Linked DNA regions of Homo sapiens: region 1 is linked to region 2. Evidence: promoter capture Hi-C in human tissues and cell types (Jung and others, 2019). All regions are on one chromosome and are shown on one strand. The core of a region is centred on a gene start or on the middle of the fragment in contact, and the rest is flanking DNA. Distances in the headings are between cores, read along the strand shown.

What was found. The method cuts DNA at HindIII sites, captures the fragments that hold promoters and counts their contacts. A contact is called where the count stands out against the background at its distance.
Region 1: a fragment that was not itself captured here is called in contact with the fragment with the promoter of GTSCR1 in region 2 in 1 of the 25 tissues and cell types used here (dorsolateral prefrontal cortex).

What each region holds. Positions count from the first base shown.
Region 1 is chr18:72,579,439-72,582,946 of GRCh38, forward strand. It overlaps a transcript of CBLN2 not described here. Among named protein-coding and RNA genes, the nearest start is that of CBLN2, 37 kb to the left of the region's middle. The HindIII fragment of the contact is 5,810 bases long and covers 1-3,508 here.
Region 2 is chr18:70,648,810-70,652,395 of GRCh38, forward strand. It overlaps GTSCR1 (Gilles de la Tourette syndrome chromosome region, candidate 1), which reads right to left and starts at 2,145. Exons shown (of 3, transcript NR_160904.1): 1 at 1,801-2,145. The HindIII fragment of the contact is 9,016 bases long and covers 1-3,586 here.

The DNA.
Region 1 (3,508 bases), core at 771-3,270, 1.9 Mb after region 2:
TTTAGGCATATTCTAAGAACTAGTAATACCACGCCTGTAATCCCAGCACTTTGGGAGGCCGAGGTGGGTGGATCACAAGGTCAGGGGTTGGAGACCAGCCTGGTCAACATGGTGAAACCCCCATCTCTACTAAAAATACAAAAATTAGTTGGGTGTGGCTGTTGGCACCTGTAATCCCAGCTACTTGGGAGGCTGAGGCAGGAGAATTGCTTGAACCTGGGAGGCAGAGGTTACAGTCAGCCAAGATCATGCCACTACACTCCAGCCTGGGTGACAGAGCGAGACTCCGTCTCGCAAAAAACAAAAAACAAAAAACAAAAACAAAATAAAACAAAAAACTAGTCATAAAAAAATAAGTCTACTCAATTTTTTTCAAGGCCTTCCCAGAACCACTAAATTGATTGACATGAAGATTTTTGGTCATATTATGTTTGTCTCCAAGGCTTAGTCATTTAGTCTCTGAGTCTTAATGCAAAGTTGGTCTTGCATTAAGGAAATGGAGAATTTAGGGGACAATAAAAATAAAGTATTTTGAAATTTAAATAGATCAATAATTAACACTTCTGAAAAGAAATATGAAAACTGGAGTTTTATTCTCCTTTTTCAAAAGAAGATATGATTATAGCAGTGCAACTACTTTTTTCCAAATTATAGCATAATATATATATATATACAAGAAAAAATAGTAGGAAAAAATGGCATGGGTGACATTATAATTAATGATATTTCTGATTTTTATATGAAAAATGACTAGAAATGTTCTTAAAAGCTAACAGGAAACTCAACTCTAAATATTATACTTTATAAAAATGCTTAAAAATTCAGTTGAACAGAGGTGTCAACTCTTTTTATTATAAAATACTAACTCATGCCAAAAATATATTAAGGAAAACTATTCAGCTATTGACTTATTCCATTGCAAACACATACATAACTACTACCCAGAGCAAGGACTAGAATATTGACAGAAAGCCAGCATACCCTCAGAGGTTTGTTTCTATCATAACCCTCCCTTTAACCTCTAAAAAATGACTACTTATCTGAATATTATGGCATCAATTCATTGTTTGCCTTTTCACCACCCAAGTTTACATTCCTACATATTATAGTATAACTGTGGTTAATTTCATAGAATTGGAATCACACACATATATATATATACATTTTGCCTTTCATCATTTGTTCACATTAAACATGATGCTTTTGAATTCATTTGTATTATGTTGTATAATTATATGTCATGCATTTCAAAGTATTTTATTGTGTAAATATACCACATTCTATTTATTCATGCTTCTGCTGATCAACATTTAGATTATTTTGAAATTATGTCAATTATGAATAATGACCCTATGAACATTCACATTATATCTCTCCTGGAACACATACACCTATATTTTTGTTGAGTATTGACAGACTCTCTTCTTAACCAAACTTCAGTCAGGCTCCTTTGAGCCCTCTTCTCAATAAGGCTTCCACCTTGGCCCCATCCTGCCCTCAGCCTCCTTAGTACAGTATTAGCCAGTATTCCGCTAAGCCAGTTTGAGAACCCTCCCACCCTTGATATCTGACCACGTTTTATGTTTAAGTCCTTGGCTTGCCTTTTGCAAGAAACCTCTTAGGTCAGTTTATCAAGAATCCCCCTACCCTTAGTAATTTTCTATCCACTGACTGCCTCACTCTGCTCTTTGATATAAATCCTCAGATATCTCTCCTCTATCAGGAGCCCAATCTCTTTTCCCTTCACAGCAGTCTTGAATAATGTCTTCCTAACTTTTTTAACGTGTGTCAGAATATTTTTAATTGTATACCTTGAGGAATAAATTGCTTAGTCATATGACATATGCATCTTAAAATTAATCAAGAGTTCCTATCTTCTGCAATGATTATAACAATTTATATATCTACTATCAATATATGAGAATTTTATGATTTCTCCTTGTGTGCCATCCCCTGGTTCTTTAAATTCTAGCCATTCTTATGGATGTTATAATAAATTTTATTACTGTTTAATTTGTATTTCCTTGGTTACTGATAAGGTGAAGCACATTTCTTTATGTATACTGACCATTTAAATCATTAGAATATCCCACTTTGTGTCTTGTATATGTTAACTTACACCTGTTTGGAGCTTTAGCTTATGTTCTCATGAGTTTTCTCTCTTTCTTGTTTACACGAAGTTATCTGTATATTCTCAAAATAAGTCTTTGTGATTACATGTGTTGCGAATAACATCTTTTCCCCTCTTTAATGTCGAATTTTGGTTTACATTTAGAGATGTTACATTTAATGCCATTTTGTTTGTAAATTTTTTCTCTATGATGAGTGTGTTTTGTATGCTGCTTAAATATTTTTCTAGACTGAGGTCATATTCTATTAGTTAAATTAAATTCATTTATTTGCCTGTTTAATCGATTAGTTCGTATATGTTTGTGAGTGTGTTTTGCATGTCTATGTTCAATCTCTGTGGGTTTCAGACTTCTTCTGTCCAATATGCAATAACATTCAAAGTTTTGGGGTTTTGTTTGTGAGGAGCTTCTCGTCTTCACACCATTTATGAAAGGACTGCCTTTCCTCCACTGCTTCGATGTGACATTTCTGTTGTAAATCAAGTGTCCAAATCTCCACAGGGCTATTTGAAGCACTCTATTTTTTCCCTGTTCTGTCATCTACCCTTGCATCAGAACCATATGCTTTGAAACTTGGCTTTATATATGGCAGTGCAAGTCCTCCCACATTTTTCTCTAAGAGTGCTTTGGCTATTTTTGGGTCTTTGCATTTCCATGTCAATTTTAGATATATCTTGCCAAGTTTCATATAAAATATTGTGAATGAATGATTTAATTTGCAGGCAGAAGCCTTTTAGTGTCTCCTAACTGACATGATCTGAGTGTGGTGGAGCATCCGGGAACAGTATGGAGTTTGTAGGAAGATAACATCTTTTAAGGTAATTGGCTTCTATCACTCAAGCTGCCCCATACTCTAAGGCTTGTTCTTTCAGATGTCAGCAGACAGGCACACTTGCCATAAAACTTCCTGGTTCTGGGAAGCAGAAACATACTGTTTCTGATATGAGGCGAGAGATGTGAAGGAGCTTTTTCCTGGGGTCTGAGGACAAGATTAATAGGAGAGAATGCATGAGTTGTGCTGTGCCTCCTGCACTCTCTGGGAACCAAACCTTGAGTAAAACAGGTGCTCACACATCCTTTAATAATTGCATATAATATGTGCATGAGATATCCAGGACTGTTTAAGAGCAGGGGCCCACATACCCAAGTCTAAAGCCAATATACTTAAACAGATTGGAAAAGCAGTTTCCCTGGGATTTGTGGATCATGCTCAGATTAAACCCCAGTGGAAACATGAGACCTAGAGTTAGACAGCAAACAGTCCTTAAGGAAATACCATGATCTTACTTGGAATTACAATGCTTAATTTAGACCTACATCTTATGTTGCATGCTATGTCTAAATATTTAAATGTTTCCCATCAAAACGCTGGTATCTCA
Region 2 (3,586 bases), core at 895-3,394:
TTTGTATTGTTTTTAGTAGAGACGGGATTTCACTGTGTTAGCCAGGATGGTCTCGATCTCCTGACCTCATGATCTGCCCGCCTTGGCCTCCCAAAGTACTGGGATTACAGGTGTGAGCCACTGCACCCGGCCTGAAGTGCAAATTTTTCATAACAATCTTTTTTCAAAATATTTTGAAATATTCTCTGCTGTTCAGTTATAATGATAGCTGGAGGCATTATACAACTTTATTTTGTAACATATTTTTTTCCAGTACAGATGTGAAAAGCTTCACATCTATTATTTAGTACTGCAATGTCAAATAAAGTTAGAGAGAAGTTTCAGAAAAAAAGATAAATTCGTAAAAGGCCATAGTCTCTGTGAGGAAAAGTGACATAGGACATTTCTCCATTGGCAGCAGTTAGGAAATGTAGGAAGAGCGTCAGAGTTTCTGAGTCAGCTTTCAGATGCATGTCCTCACTTTCTCTTCATTATACCCAAATGAAGATCTTGTTTGAACTTTTTTTAAATTATACTTTAAGTTTTAGGGTACATGTGCACAACGTGCAGGTTTGTTACATATGTATTCATGTGCCATGTGGGTGTGCTGCACCCATTAACTCATCATTTAACATTAGGTATATCTCCTAATGCTATCCCTCCCCCCTCCCCCCACCCCACAACATTGCGGCACTATTCACAATAGCAAAGACTTGGAACCAACCCAAATGTCCAACAATGATAGACTGGATTAAGAAAATGTGGCACATATACACCATGGAATACTATGCAGCCATAAAAAATGATGAGTTCATGTCCTTTTTAGGGACATGGATGAAGCTGGAAACCATCATTCTCAGCAAACTATCGCAAGGACACAAAACCAAACACGGCATGTTCTCACTCTTAGGTGGGAATTGAACAATGAGAACACATGGACACAGGAAGGGGAACATCACACACCGGGATCTTGTTTGAAATTTACAGATAGAGAAGCGAAGGCCTTGGAGATACAACGTTCTTCGGAAAGTGGTCAGAGCCTCCTAACATTGCTTCGGGGCTGCGCCCCTCCCCGCTCCCTCCTGTTTTGGCTTCTTGCCAGCCTGGATGTTCCTGGTCCCTGCAATGCTTGCACTTTCCTGAGTCAATACTGTGGAATCTGTTGACCCTTCTTCTTGGAAACTGTTTTCTTCCATTTTTTTTTTTAAGAAAACTGTAAAGTTAATGCATACTCTTGGGAAAAAAGAATTCTAACAGAATTAAAGATTATAATTGAAACATACTTTATACACAGTTTTATATACCATTTTTTCTTAATACTATGAACAAGTTTTCTGTGTCCTTAGAATGGTTGTAAATACCATAGTGGTTACAAGGGGCGTAGCCACATTCTAAGAGTGCATCGCCATTGACTTAATGCTCCACTGTATCCTCTAATTAGGCCACAGCCTTGGCTGACCCATGCTCCTGCCTAAACGTGACCAGTCTGCACCTCAGAAGGCCAGGCTCTCCCCTTGGCTGCCACCTACAGCCAATCTAACCAGCTGTGCACCCGAGTCTCTGTTTTTTTTTTTTTTTTTTTTTTTTTTTTTAATGTTTTCCCCATTACTTCAAGGTTTGGATAAAATAATGTACTATGGTTTGCAGCCTGGCTTCCCAAATAATGAGGCTGGAAGTCACAATCTGAAACTGAGTGAATTAACCCCCTGTTCAGGGAATTGAGTAATAAGGAAAAAAGACCTTGAAAGAGCTAGGAAGATTCATTTCCTCTTCTCCCTTTTTCTGATGAACAAACTGTTTCAGGAAAGAGATCTTGCTTACCTCTGCAGTCTCTCTGAGATGTCCCTCATGGCCACATGAGTGCACCCAGCAAAGGACCCAACTTGGGAAGCTGTGGCCAGGATGGTATATGTCACTTTGCATTGCTTCTCATCCTTCCCTCCGTAGCTGTTTTCCTCACCTTCTTGCCATGAGTTTGCACGTCCTTAAACAAAATAGGAGCCTTTTTAGTCATTGCCTCAGACCAGGCTTTTTAGGGAACCTGAGCTCAGGCAGAGACCTAGATGCAGAGGGAGGTAGAATGTTCCAGGAAGGAGATGCAGAATGTACAAAAGCTTTGTGGGGTGAGGGAGCATGATAGGGTAAAAGCAAAGGAAGGTTGAAATGAAAAAAAAAAAAAAGTAAATGGCAAATGTGAAATGTGATGGAGAAAGGAAGAGGAGGGGCATGTGATGTAAACTAGCTGGGGACAAAACCACAGAAGGTGGTATAGACCCCGGAAGCAGTCTGGTCTTGATTCTAAGAGTAACAGCAATCTACTGTAGGGCTTTAGGGAGGATGGCAGTGGGATGGAGATGGGGTAGCATATTAGTCCATTTTCACACTGCTGTAAAGAACTGCCTGAGACTGGGTCATTTATACAGAAAAGAGATTTAGGTGACTCACAGTTCCGCATGGCTGGTGAGGCCTCAGGAAACTTACAATCATGTCAGAAGGGGAAGGAGGGATGTCTTACGTGGTGGCAGGCGAGAGAGAGCCTATGAAGGAGGAACAGTCAAACACTTATAAACCATCAGATCTCATGAGAACTCACTCACTGTCATGAGAACAGCATGGGGGAAACTGTTTACATGATCCAGTCACCTCCTTCCCTTGAGATTTGGGGATTACAGGTCCCTTCCTCAACACATGGGGGTTACAATTCGAGATGGGATTTGGGTGGGGACACAGAGCCAAACCATGGGGGTTACAATTCGAGATGGGATTTGGGTAGTGACACTGGATTTGAATTTTGAAAGGGACACTCTGGTTATGCAGGGCAGAATAGATCGTCTGAAGGAGGTTTGCAGTGTGGATATTGCTTGATCAGTTAGCAAGTGATGGCATATTACTGGAGAAAGATGACATTAGCTTGGACTACTGTGGGAATAATGGAAATGGAGAAAAATGAGAGATATTTGGGAAGTAAAATGGATAAGATCGATAAAGGTTGGATATGTAACCTGGGGCAGTGGAGGAGTCTTAGATAATTCCTAGGTCTCTATATTGAGCTATTTATTGGATGCTGGTGGCATTCACAGAGGTCAAACATTTGTGGCTGAGGTCAAACATTTGTGATGTACCCGGTATAACTGCTCCCTGAAGTTCCCTGAAGCTGAGAGAGTGAACAGATGGTAAGGAGAGGCAAGCTGGCCTTGCCTTCCTGGATTTTATGTTTTCAAATGACTGAGAGTACTGTATGGATTGGACATGTGACTAAAAGAATTCCCTGCCCTTCCCCACCTTGCAACCCCCTTCCCCAGATCTGAAGTTGAATTATACACTAATGAGCACATGTCTGGCCCAAATTAGGTCTAGAATGCATGTGTCTAATGTGGGCCTTCTAATATTCAGTCTTCCCTGTATATTAGTGAGCTATTTCATTTTTCAAATAATTGGAGTCATGTTGTAGTTCTTCCAGGGAAATTCCAATCACCAGGGCTAGTGTCTCTGCCCTTGATCACACTGATTTATAGAAGTCATCTTCTTCATTTGTAAAGTATTTGTTGTGTTTATTATGAGTGAGACACTAAGTAGGGCACAATATGAATATGACATGGGTCTTGCT